Linked DNA regions of Homo sapiens: all the other regions are linked to region 2. Evidence: promoter capture Hi-C in 16 types of primary human blood cells and fetal thymus (Javierre and others, 2016). All regions are on one chromosome and are shown on one strand. The core of a region is centred on a gene start or on the middle of the fragment in contact, and the rest is flanking DNA. Distances in the headings are between cores, read along the strand shown.

Region 1 (4,219 bases), core at 1,279-3,778, 1.1 Mb after region 2:
AGGAAGCGAGGTCTCTTTAGCAGTGTGTGTAAAGGCTTGCATGTGAGGCTGCCCATGTTATTTTTCTGTTTATTAGGCAGAATGATTGATCTGAGGAGACCAGTGGCAATGACATCCTAGACACAGTAACATCAGGACAACCCATTACTTTTCCTATTACCTCCTTCTTTTCCTTTCCTCTAGAAAGAAAGAAGAGCATTGGGGTGACAGCAATAAATCTAAAGGGAACAATTATACTGATACTGGTTAAGAGGATCTTGTATCTTTACTTATTCCCGAATCTAAGAAAAAAAAAAGGAATTTGGGACTAAGGAGAATTCATTCTTCCTACAGTGTCACATTACATTTGTTCTGTGTCTAAAACCTGCAATATTCAAAACTGACTTTTATTATTAACTGTTGAGTGACTTACAAATGTTGTTAGAGCAGAGCAGGGCAGAACAGTGTCATGGATAATCTTCCAAAGCAGATAATTCAAAAGTCATTTCCATTTAGCTGTGCAAAAACAGTTTATTTCTCTCCGTCAGTTTTCCATTGGTTAACGTACTTTGTTTCTGCTAGGCTGATTTGACTACTGCAAGGAAATACATACCAAGGACATATTATTTGGCATGGTGAAACCACCTTGGGGTCAGAAAACTGAATACTACACAAGTCAAGGTTTAATGTATTATGTATCTTCAAGGGCCTTGCTTCAGTGTCCTATGGTAAGGAATTGAGGGGTGGAGGGAGAAAAGTAGGGATAACCAAAAAGCATGTACTCAGACATAAAGATTTTGGAGGGGTGAGCAAGAAGTTGCAGTAAAATCGTACCTTTTTTTTTTCTTCCTGTAAACTGTCTTTGGTTTATGAGCCAAAGAATGAGTTTATAAGAGGCAGAGCAAAGAATAGGGGAGTAGTGAATTTGTTGTACTTAAGTGGGATGTCAACTTCATAATATAAAAATGAACGTTTCAGCAAATAGAGCTGCTCACTCAGAAAGGGTGGCCTATGTAACTTGGGGTTCCCCATCATTGGCCGTGTTTAAGCCTAAGTGGCATATCTGGTTAGAAATGGATTACAGTAAACAGTATTCCTGTATCCTTCATTCCGCAAATGCAAAAGCCTACTCTGTATAAGGTACATGCAGAATATGAAAAGGTATCAAATCTGGATCTGCTCTCTGCCAGCTGTCAAAGCATTGCTTCTCACACACTTTAATGTGATCTTGTTAAAATGCAGATTCAGAACCCTGGGGATGGGGCCTGATTCTGCATTTCTAACAGGCTCCCAGTTGACGCCAACACTGCTGGTCTGTGTAACACAGAGTGATAAACGTTTCTAGAAGGAGACATGCAAATACTTATAATACAAAGGTAAGTACCTTAGGGATTCCACTAATTTTCATAAAAAACCTGGATCCCTCCCAACCCTAGGGCTGTCTTTGCCCTTTTTATACCTTTAGTGTTCCTTCTGATGTTTTCGTTGTTGCTATCTTCCTTGAATTTTATTTCTTCTGAGGTTTCTCACTGTGTATGCTGTTTCTTAGCCTAGGAGAGCCTTTTCGTTCTTCTCCTAAGACTAACATTTTACTAATTTGTCAAGGAGCTAGAGCTCCTAAACACGCCATCTTGAATTCTTCCCTGCGACCCCAGTCGGGCTGAAAGCTCCTTCCTTGTCGCTCCCCACTGAACAGATTTTTCTTGGGGCGGGGAGAGGGGGACGGAGTATCGCTGAGTCGCCAGGCTGGAGTGCAATGGCGCGATCTCGGCTCACCGCAACCTCCGCCTCCCGGGTTCAAGCGATTCTTCTGCCTCATCCTCCCAAGTAGCTGGGACTTCCGGCGCGCGCCACCACGCCCAGCTAATTTTTGTATTTTTAGTAGAGCCGGGGTTTCACCTTGTTGGCCAGGATGGTCTTGATCTCCTGACTTCGTGATCTGCTCGCCTCAGCCTCCCAAAGTGCTGGGAATACAGGCGTGAGCCACTGCGCCCGGTCAGAACAGTTTTAACCTCCAGCAATGACCACTGCTTCCTTCTGCCTGCAGTTGGAAGTCAGTTTCAGTTTTCTTATTCCCTATAAGGAACCCACCTCTCCGGTCGCCTAACACACAGATGCTGCCCAGAAAACGTGCTGGCGCACCTGAGGCGGGGTAGAAAGCCGTGCCGCTCCTCCCGGCACCGAGCACCGGAGCCCAGGGAGGCGGCCTCCGAGTGTCATTTGGGGACGTCCCTTCTGCCGGGTAGTCTCAGAGGCCAAGCGCTCCTATTATCCCGGGCGCAGTCTCCCCAGGCGGGACAGGCCCTGCCTGGCGCCCCCTCCTGGCGCTGGAGGCTGCGTGCGACTGCCCACCATCGAGGCGGCGGCGGCGGCGGCTAGAGAGGCCGGCGGGTCCCGGGCGCCGAGGCTGCAGGCCGCAGGGAACGCGCACTGGGCGGACTCCGCGCCGCCGGCCTTGTAGCCATTTTAGGAGGAATCGCTGGTCGCCAGCGAGGGGTGCGGCTTCAATTTCAATAACTTTATTGGTGGCCTGATCTGCAGAACAGCCATCACATCAGTGGCCCTTGGAGGAGGGAGCGCATCGCCCGAGGTGACTGGAGTGGGGGCGCCCCTGGCAGTGAGCGCGGGGACGCGGGGGAGGTCCCGATAGCGGGTTTCCTGAGCTAGGGCCAGTGAGGGCACCGGGGTATTTGCAGGCGTTCCCGCAGGCCAGGAGGGAGAGGGCTCCAGGGCTCGGCTTCCCTGGGGCGGGGAATCCCTTGCCCTGTCCCGAGGCGCAGGGGCGGGGCCGGGGGGCGCCCCTGACGCGGCGGCTGAGGTGTTCCCAGCCCGGTGTCGTTCCCCGCGGTAGGTGGTCCCCGACGAGCTGCAGCCATGGGAAACACCACCAGCGACCGGGTGTCCGGGGAGCGCCACGGCGCCAAGGCTGCACGCTCCGAGGGCGCAGGCGGCCATGCCCCGGGGAAGGAGCACAAGATCATGGTGGGGAGTACGGACGACCCCAGCGTGTTCAGCCTCCCTGACTCCAAGGTAAGCGTCCCATGCCCGCAGTTGGTGTCAGTACTGCAGCGGGTTGATTTCTGGGCTCCTCTTCCCTTTCTTGGTTCTTTTCTACCGCGCCGAACCGGGCTATGGTTTTTTGAATTAAAGGGATTTATCGGGGACAGAGGTGTTGGATGATAATTCCTCTTGAAGTGCCGCCTCAAAATAGGATAAAGAGGCGGAGTTCTTGCTTTCCTGGTGTTCTGACTAATCTGTTGGCCACATTTTTAGGATGGGGACAATAGACATCCCCCCATCCCCGATCCTCCGAGCACGAATGGCTCTCTTCCATAGCGTTGCTGAATTTGTAGTTTGTAATCCCTGGTGGACAACTTCAGAGGGTAGGTTGCACGAGTTGCTGACCATAGGTGGTAGTTTCTCACCTTTGCCCTGAGGTGGCTAAATGAAATTCTTTTTCTGAAAATTTCTATGTATCAGTATCATTTTTGCTCTTCTAGCAGCTCTACAGTTGTGATCCTCTTCCCTTTTGGCACGGCTGTAAGCAGCAACTACTTGCTTATTGAATACTTTCTCCTAGTCTTGGGGATCAATTAAGGACATCATTTAGTTGACTGCTTAATTTTTGTCCCATACTTTATAGTTGTGGTGGCTGAGGCTGTGCCTCTTTCACGCCCCGCTGCTGCTCCGTAGGTGGAAGAGCCAATGATTCCACGACTTGTTTACTCCTCAGTAGTACTTCAAAATGTTGCGTGGCTAAAAAAACGACAACCCACAGCTGCCCTGAAGACCTTGCTCTCAATTCCAAGGACTTTCAGGAAGAGAACAACTTGTTTTCACTCTGTAAGAAAGGACAGATGGAGCTGATAGCAGCGATTACCATTCTAATGTTTCTAATGGCTTTCAGAGCTGTCAGCATGAAATACAAGTAATTCCTCCAGGTAGACTGACTGGATGAGATAGAAAAATGGAGGGCTTGAGGAGATTCGGGTGTGTTTGATGTTTCCTATCATTTCATCACTTCCCAGGGAACTGGGGCTTTAGAGAGTGAATAGAGTATTGTTTGCCATATTGGTAGCACATGGAATTTGGATTCCATGATTTATTTCTTTGGATCTCAATTGATAACATCATCACAGCCTGGCGCAGAGGCTCACGCCTGTAATCCCAGCACTTTGGGAGGCCGAGGCGGTTGGATCATTTGAGGTCAGGTGTTCGAGACCAGCCTGACCAACATGGT
Region 2 (4,626 bases), core at 155-2,654:
CAAGACCAGCCTGGAAACCAAAGTGAGACCTCCTCTCTATAAAAAGTTGAAGAATTAGCCAGGTGTGGTGGCATGCACCTGTGGCCTCATCTACTCGGAGGCTGAGGTGGGGGGATTGCTAGAGCCCAGAAGTTTGAGGCTGTGGTGGGCCATGATGGAGCCACTGCACTCCAGCGTGGGTGACAGAGTGAGAACCTGTTTCAATAAATAAATAAATAAATTATTTTCAACCATTTAAAATATCAATGACAGATTTATTTGGCCTTTTAAGTGCATTGCTAAATTCTCCTCCAATCTACTTCTAAATCTAAAGCAGAGCCTGCTTTAGAAAGAGAAGAGGAAAATGTATTTCAATTTAGAAAAGGGAAGTCTTTTACAATATTCTTAATTCACATTATGGTGAAGCAGTATACACAATAGCAGGCTCCCCTCTTCCTGTGGGTTTTACCTTGAAAGGGGCTGCCAGAACAGAACTTTCAGGGAAGGGGCCAGAGCCCTGGGGACTTTCCTCAGGTGATGGTGATGGAAGAAGAGGCAAGGCAGGACAGGAGGGCTCAGGTAAGGGAGACTATGCAGGTGCAGGGGCAGGAGGAAAAGGAGCAGTTGGAGGCGAAAGAGACAAAGCCTCCTCAATATTTCTCAATTCAGAAAAAGCATCAGATATCCCCAGTTTAAATCCTCAATGGAGGCAATTTTCTCAGTAGTTCTTTTAGAAATTTCTAGGTATCATTGGAAGTAAGTCTCCCATTCAATTTGCCTGATTCTAAAACCAAATTTTTCCAATTGTGTGCCCTAATAAATTATTTTAGTCATTTCAAAAGATCCCCATTTTCTCCATTCTACTTATGAGTTTTTCTGGTTAGGTGGGTCAGGTTTCTTGGATATTTACAAGAGGATGCTTCATAACTGTTATACAGAAACTCAGCTGGTGGTTCTAAACGCGGTTGTTTCTTCAAAGTATGCTCAGATTTTGAAGCTTGATTTCCCATAATTCAGGAGCTTTGCAAAGATGACCAAAATCTGGGATGTGTTTTGGGTCACAGTGTCCTGCTTATGTAGTCACTCCTACAGATATCACCGGAGTTGTGTATCACTGTCTCAGTGGCTCCCACTGTTTCTAACCACCAGGTGGCCACAGAGTGCATCTGCTCTGGGGGACCCATCGCTCATATACCCTCCCATAAGAGCAGGAAAGGGGATTCATAAAGACGTTCTTCTGATGGGGAATGCTCTACGAGGCCGCCTTCACATGGTGAGTAGTGACCGTGACACCTCTGCAGCGTCCCTGGTCACTTGTAGCCCCTGAAAGGGTCATCGGGAGCAGATCACTTCTTTTCTTCAGGGCTGGAGAAAGTACCTCCGTGCATTTTCCAGGTAAGAACTAACAGGGGCCGGGCACATTGGCTTACGCCTGTAATCTCAGCCCTTTGGGAGGCCGAGGTGGGCAGATCACCTGAGGTCAGGAGTTTGAGACCAGCCTGAACAACATGGAGAAACCCTGTATCTACTAAAAACACAAAATTAGTTGGGCGTGGTGGCACGTTTGTAAAACCAGCTACTTGGGAGGCTGAGGCAGGAGAATCACTTGAACCTAGGAGGCGGAGGTTGCGGTGAGCCGAGATCCCGCCATTGCACTCCACCCTGGGCAACAAGAGCAAAACTCCATCTCAAGGAAAAAAAAAAAAACTAACAAGAATTAGTCACAAGTGAAAACCTAAGTTCAAACTTTCATAAAAGCATGCTACAGAAAACAAAACCACCGGTGCCTACCTGCCAATATCTTGACCCAGACCTTCCTGATGAGGGACAGAGGCAGAAAAGGCAGAAGCTTTCCACACAGTCCTTTGCCTGACTGTGACCCAAACTTTCTGTCCTGAGGCAGAGGTGGAAAGGGCAGTTTTTTCCCCCTGAAACTCAAGTCTCTTAACTGGAGGGTAAAGACAGAAAACCTCCATTGTAGAAAGGGAAGGCTGGAAAGGACAACTCAAGCAAACTCCAGGCCTTCAACCAAAGAGTGGGAAGGTCCAGATTTCAGGAGGATTCACCACTTACTGCCCATCTGTTTCTCTGAGTCAGAACGTGAGGATTTCAAAGCTGGCCAGGCACCTAGTCCAGGAGGAATGTGGTCTGAGAGACAAAAATAGATGTCACCTTGTAGACTAAGACAGACTCTAAGGTTAAGAAAACAAGAGTTACCTACGGGTCAAGGATTCAGGGCTGGACTGGCATAGCAACTTCCTAAATTTCTGTGGCTAGAAGAAAAACCACACTCTTGCTAAACTCCTTAACAATAGGAGCTAGCAGGCAAATTGTCAAAATCTTCCCAGCAATTCTCAACTGGATTTACAACCCAGATCACCAGACCTCTGATGGGACAGAGGAGTGCCCTTCCATTCTTTCCTGATAAGCAACTGCAGACCTCAAGCCAGTTTCAGCCATGTTACAGGGACTGCACACAAACCGACTTCATGTCCTATAGTTCACCTTTTGACATAAAGAGCCAATTTCCATCTAATTTTAATGCTAAAATCTCTTCCCAATGTGAAGATGGGGTGCACGTTACATATATGTTTACCCGTTGCACATGAGCTCAACACCCCTCAGAAATGGCGTTTCTCCAAACCTGCTGAATATGTATAACTCCATTGTGTGATACACACCGTGTGAGGCACAAAAACCAACCTGCCCTCTCTCTCTCTCTCTCTGAAGAGAAAGCACCTCTTCAAAGACACACACCGGAGACTGTCTCTTCCTGGACTGCAAACTGATCTCACCAATCAAATTCTTACTACTATGTAGCCACCCTGGAGGCCTTTGAGAGGACAGTCAGATGGTCAGAGATGAGTCGCTCTGCATTCTGCTCCCTGGGCCAAAAACGTCGACCTAGAAGGAAGGGGCTTAAGCACAAACATGATTTAAAAAGTTTGTTTGAGCCAATGTGAGGACACTTGCCTGGAAGACTCAGATCCAAGCAATCTTGGATGTGGGCTCCATTTGCCCTTTGTTACAAGCAGGTTTCTAAAGACCAAAAAGGGAGACGGGGAGTTGGCTGGTACAAAATTGCCTGTCAGGAACTCCCTGAAGTTTACAGAAATAACATTGATTAATGATTAGCTATACATTGTTCAGCTACAGGGAGTGAGAGATGGTGTCCAGTGCAGCATGTTTAGGTTGCTTTATAGCCACTTGTGATGATAGCAAGCTGTTTTAATAGATGAATACACGGCTTCAAAACAGGGACATAAGACGTTGTTGCTGTCTCATTTTAATGCCTAACTCTGGGCTTGTTAATTTGAAAGCACTCACTTTCCTCACATAAAATTTCTTTTCTTTCCTCAGACATTTGAATTCTTTATAGTTTAGGAATATTTTGAATAAATATGTATTTGTTTTACATGTCTTTGGTAAACCATATTCACGTTTCTCTAGAAATAGAAATTCCAATAGAAATATAATGCCAGGCATATACGTACTTTTAAATGTATTAGTAGACATGTTTTAAAAAGTAAAAAGAAAGAGGTGAAATTATTTTTTATAATATATATTCAACTAAATATATTTAAGGTATTATCATTACCCCATGTGACACTAGCAAGATTTCAAGTGTTCAATAGCTACCCGTGGTTTGTGGCTATCATATTGGAAAGCACAAGTCTATGGGGTAGAAAAGTTGAATTTCTGGGTCATAGCATATATGTATGTGTGTTTTACCACTAGAATATACAGGCAAACAATTTTCCAAAGTTTTTGAACTTATTTATACTCTTGCCAGAAATGAATAGAAGATTATAACGCTTCCGTTGTGCCAAAATCTGGGAATGTCTTTTTTTTTAAGTCAAGTTTACTGAGGTATAATTAAAACTCACCAGCGTTACATGTTGTACGTGGTTCTCAGTGATATACTCTCTTTGCAAAGCTGGCTTTTGGTGGTAGCTTTGATTTAAAAGCTAATGCCACGTAAAAAAATTCAATACGTAGGGCCAGGCGAGGTGGCTCATGCCTGTAATTCTAGCACTTTGGAAGGATGAGGTGGACGGATCACTTGAGGTCAGGGGTTTGAGATCAGCCTGGCCAAAATGGTGAAACCCCATTTCTACTAAAAATACAAAAATTAGCCAGGTGTGGTGGGGGGAACCTATAGTCTCAGCTACTTGGGAGACTGAGGCAGGAGGATCATCTGAGCTCTGGAGGCTGAAGTTTCAGTGAGCTATCATTGCACCACTGCAGTCCAGCCTTGGTGACAGAGTGAGACTCTGTCTCAAAAACAGAAAAAAAATGTATATATATATATATGTGTGTGTGTGTGTGTGTGTGTGTGTGTATATGTATATATATACACACACACATATATATATACACACATATATATGTTGTGAACTCAACAAGCAACACTATTCTCCAAGTAAAGTAATATAGAGAGAGAATCTTAAGGCAATCAAAATTATTTATTATTATTTATTAACTAATTTTAAGGCAATTGAAATTTATTATTTTTTATTAACTCTATTATTATTATCAAAATTATTTATTAACTCCATTATTAACTCCATATAATCATTAATATCGGTCATGGATTTTAAAATTAACTATATATCTTGAAATTATACATTGAGCTGACATTTAATA
Region 3 (4,584 bases), core at 650-3,149, 1.0 Mb after region 2:
TTATGGAGATTAATATTTATTTTCTTTATGCATAGGCTATTTCCCTGAATGTTTTACTGAAAATACGTACTACTTCTGTAACCAAACGAAAAAAAAGTAGTAAGAATTTTTTTAACCAACTCATGAAGAATAGTTTCTCATAACACTAGTTTATTCTGGTAAACAGAAATAGAAATTACAAGTTATAATATTCAGTAGCCATTCCTTTGACTCTGCTTTTCTATTTTCCTTCTCCACTACCAATTTATCCAAGTTGCCACATTTGCCTACTTAATTCTGAATTTACTCACTCCATTCCATCCACTCAAACTTGCAACCTCTTGTCTCCTCATTTTCACTAAAACACTTGCCCATATGTACGTTTCTCCTGGCATATTATCCACAGCTAAGTATCAACTGGCACACTTTTCTGAGCCCTCTCTCACACAAGTTCTTAAAGAACCATTCCCAACACTTGCAAGGAAATAGGCAAACCCACAAACATAAACTTTCGTTAAGATAAAGTCAAACATAAAAAGACCAGTCTACAAGCTCATACTTAAAACTGGATACATACTCCTTACAGCCACACATTCTTACAGACTCAGGGAATCAAGGAGAGAGGTCTTTCTCTTTCATGTCAGCGTCCTCTCCATTCAACTTCATCTTTCAGTCTTCTAAGCTGAACACAGAATTGCACCTTTTGTTTCATTCCTAGAATGACAAACCTTACTCTTTCGTGGTACTGAGCACTTAAATAAATTAGTTTATACTTTTAAATGCACTCTCACTAGTCTAAAACTCTAGGTAGGAAGGGTCCCTATTTGTTTTGCTCATCTTTGTAGCCAATGCCTAAGAATACGCTCCCAGTAGCATTCAATAAGTAATGAATAAACGACTGTATTATTACTGATGCATGATTCTGTCAATACAGTCAAAGCACACACTACGTTCCCAACTTATAAGTAAGGAAAACGAGGCTGGGGCGGTTCAGCGGCGAGTCAGCGCAGACCCAGGAGGAGAGCGGGGTCTCGGAGCTGCAGGAAGTACGGTCAGCCATGCAGCGGCAGGGCTGGGGGGCATGCAAGGTTCGCGCTTTGCAGACTCTCCGTAAGGGCTAGTGTCAATAAATCGAGTTACGTGCGGTGGTGAGCGGACAAGCTAAGTTGGCATATAGTACGTGGTTCAGTCAGTATTTATGAATGACTCAAGACACAAAAATAGCTTCATAAACAGTGCTTTGCTTGAGTTTGTCCGCTCACTACCGCACGTAACTCGATCCGGAGAATTAATCCGTGGCGAATTCTCCAATAACTGCGCGCGCACAGTAAACGGAGAAGCTGAAGCTGGGAGATGAGTTGATCGTTTTACAGAAGCAACCAATAAACTCCCCAGGCCGGGACCCAAACCCACCGGAACAGCAACTGGAAACCTACATCCTTGGTGCACCAGGCCGTCCAACTCTTCAGCGGAGGCCTGCAGGTGGCGCTGATCTCACCACGTTTCCCCTCCACAGGCCAGGGGCCAGGCCTGGCTACCGGGCCCGCGACCTCATTCATCTGGCGTCCGCCGGCCCCGCGCGCCGCGCAGGCGGGGGCCGTGGCCACCAAGCCCGGGCGCAGTTTCTCTCCGCCCACGGCAGGAGCGAAGGAAGGCCCTGGCGCGAGCGGGTAAACTGCCCACCGGGCGGCCCACCCGCTGCGCCCCCGGCCCGCAAGAGGCAGTCCCAATAGGTTGGCCCGCCTGGCCGAAGTCCGCCCGGAGCCCGCTCACCTGTCAGCCCCCACTGCCGTAAGTCCTGCTCCTGCACCCGCGCCGCCTCGGCTCGGCCCTCAGTATGAAGCCGCAGTAAGAAGCCAGGGGCTTGGCCCCCGCGGCTAGTAGCGCCCGCGCGCTCCATCGGGCCGGTAGAGGCCCCGCCCCGCGCGGCCAAGCGCGCACCTCCCTCCCAACTTCCCAACGCGCGGGGGCGCGCGACTGCGCGCTGGGGCCCACCTACGAGCGAGGCGCCGCCAGAGGGCGCGTCCTGCCAAGATATCCGGAGCGGAGCTGGTGCAGTCACCCTTCCGGACAGGCAGTTCTTGCAGTGCGGAGCGTGGAAGGGCTGCCCAGTTCTCACCAGTCGTGCTTCTGAAGCGCTAGGCGTCTGATCACGCACAGGACGTCTGATTGCCTGAACTGCCCGTCAAGGAGGTGGCATGTGTTCATCATTCATTTATTATTTAATCAACATCGACTATCATGTGTCAGACACTCCGCTGGGCCCTGGGGGTTCTAGAAGTAAGACTTGTTCCGTGCCCTCCAGTGATTCACGATAAGATCAAACTGTTCTTGTTCGGTTTACCTAGTGATAAATTGATTTAGTCCCTGAAATCCCTTTCTTACTGCCTGTGACCTGTAGGCCAAAATTGGGAACCTCTGAATAGTAGTAAATTAAAATCACCAAAGACGTCATTGTGGCAGTGGGTATCTCAAGTGCATTATGGGGAGCAGATTGAGGCAATGTGTTCAGTTAGGGGTCACCGTGACTCAGCATCAGCTTTGAGTGGATTTATGATGTAGTATACCACTAATATAAATATGATAATAACAAAATAGCTGCATTTATTGATGAAGTTCTGGGTGGTGTCCTAAGGGCTTTAAGTATATTTTCTTATTTAACCTTCACAATAACCAATAATTAGGTGTTATAATTGTCCCCACATTGTAAATGAAGATATTGGGACTTGTAATGGTAATTGGCAGTACTGGAACAGGAACGATATTATTCTCTGGCTAATGTCATTAGAATAGTATTCTCATTTAGGTTAATCTTGGTGCTTCCTTCTTCAGTAAACTCATGTTAAATTTGTACCCTCCATTCTCATCTTCCTCTAAAATAAAAGGGAGAAATTTGTTCTGAGCTAGAAAAGGGATGACTTCAGATTGGTTTATTCATAAAAACTCAAGCAAAGCACTGTTTTATGAAGCTATTTTTGTGTCTTGAGTCATTCATAAATACTGACTTTCATGCGCGTCCGTGTGAAGAGACCACCAAACAGGCTTTGTGTGAGCAATAAAGCTGTTTATTTCACCTGGGTGCAGGTGGGCTGAGTCCGAAAAGAGTCAGCGAAGGGAGATAGGGGTGGGGTCGTTTTATAAGATTTGGGTAGGTAAAGGAAAATTACAGTCAAAGGGGGTTTGTTCTGTGGCGGGCAGGAGTGAGAGGTCACAAGGTGCTCGGTAGGGGAGCTTTTTGAGCCAGGATGAACCAGGAAAAGGACTTTCACAAGGTAATGTCATTACTTAAGGCAAAGACGGGCCATTTAAACTTCTTTTGTGGTGGAATGTCATCAGTTAAGGCAGGAACCAGCCATCTGGATGTGTACGTGCAGGTCACAGGGGATATGATGGCTTAGCTTGGGCTCAGAGGCCTGACACTGACTGAATTACATACTATGTGCCAAGCACTCTATGGTACTGAAGATAGAGGCCACTTATCTCCTGGATCTTACATTTTAAAAGGAGGAGACAAGCAATAAATAAAAATCAGGTAGTGAAGGGGTGGCCTGCCCCTCCACACTTGTGGGTATTTCTCGTCGGGTGGAATGAGAGACTTAAGAAAAAAAAGAGACACAGAGACAAAGTATAGAGAAAGAAAAGTGGGCCCAGGGAACCGGCGCTCAGCATACAGAGGACCTGCGCTGGCACCAGCCTCAGTTCCCTTAGTATTTATTGATCATTATCGGGCATTTCTCAGAGAGTGGGATGTGGCAGGACAATAGGGTAATAGTGGAGAGACGGTCAGCATGAAAACATGTGAACAAATGTCTCTGCATCATAAACAAGGTAAAGAAAAAAGTCCTGTGCTTTTGATGTGCATACACATAAACATCTCAATGCCTTAAAGAGCAGTATTGCTGCCCACATGTCCCACCTCCAGGCCTAAGGTGGTTTTCTCCTATCTCAGTCAATGGAATATACAATCGGGTTTTACACCGAGACATTCCATTGCCCAGGGATGAGCAGGAGACAGATGCCTTCCTCTTATCTCAACTGCAAAGAGGCCTTCCTTTCTCTTTTACTAATCCTCCTCAGCACAGACCCTTTATGGGTGTCAGGCTGGGGGACGGTCAGGTCTTTCCCTTCCCACAAGGCCATATTTCAGGCTATCACATGGGGAGAAACCTTGGACAATAACTGGCTTTCCTAGGCAGAGGTCCCTGCGGCCTTCCGCAGTGTATTGTGTCTCTGGGTACTTGAGATTAGGGAGTGGACTCTTAACAAGCATGCTGCCTTCAAGCATTTGTTTAACAAAGCACATCCTGCACAGCCCTGAATCCATTTAACCTTGAGTGGACACAGCCCATGTTTCAGGGAGCACAGGGTTGGGGGTAGGGTTACAGATTAACAGCATCTCAAGGCAGAAGAATTTTTCTTAGAACAGACCAAAATGGAGTCTCTTATTTCTACTTCTTTCTACACAGACACAGTAGCAGTCTGAGCTCTCTTTCTTTTCCCCACAAGGTAGGATTAATGCTAAGACAAAAGTAAAACACAATCGCATAATGGGGCAATAGTAATTTTGTACAGCAGCTTTCCTGCTTGGGTGTTTTCTCAAAACAA

Evidence for each region. The method cuts DNA at HindIII sites, captures the fragments that hold promoters and counts their contacts. A CHiCAGO score of 5 or more calls a contact.
Region 1: a contact is called between the fragment with the promoter of PRKAB2 here and a fragment that was not itself captured in region 2, in 3 of 17 cell types (naive CD8 T cells, erythroblasts and total B cells). The highest score is 10.4, in naive CD8 T cells.
Region 3: a contact is called between the fragment with the promoter of CHD1L here and a fragment that was not itself captured in region 2, in 1 of 17 cell types (naive CD8 T cells). The highest score is 6.9, in naive CD8 T cells.

Annotation. Positions count from the first base shown.
Region 1 is chr1:147,170,779-147,174,997 of GRCh38, reverse strand. PRKAB2 (protein kinase AMP-activated non-catalytic subunit beta 2) reads left to right here and starts at 2,528. Exons shown (of 8, transcript NM_005399.5): 1 at 2,528-2,569; 2 at 2,831-3,009. The coding sequence starts at 2,854. It also overlaps a transcript of CHD1L not described here. RefSeq lists silencers at 2,199-2,428, 2,599-2,868. The HindIII fragment of the contact is 16,401 bases long and covers 1-4,219 here.
Region 2 is chr1:148,251,555-148,256,180 of GRCh38, reverse strand. No RefSeq gene overlaps it. Among named protein-coding and RNA genes, the nearest start is that of TRQ-CTG4-1, 11 kb to the left of the region's middle. The HindIII fragment of the contact is 852 bases long and covers 979-1,830 here.
Region 3 is chr1:147,239,999-147,244,582 of GRCh38, reverse strand. It overlaps CHD1L (chromodomain helicase DNA binding protein 1 like), which reads right to left and starts at 1,899. Exons shown (of 23, transcript NM_004284.6): 1 at 1,753-1,899. The coding sequence starts at 1,879. RefSeq lists a silencer at 1,448-2,067. The HindIII fragment of the contact is 18,027 bases long and covers 1-4,584 here.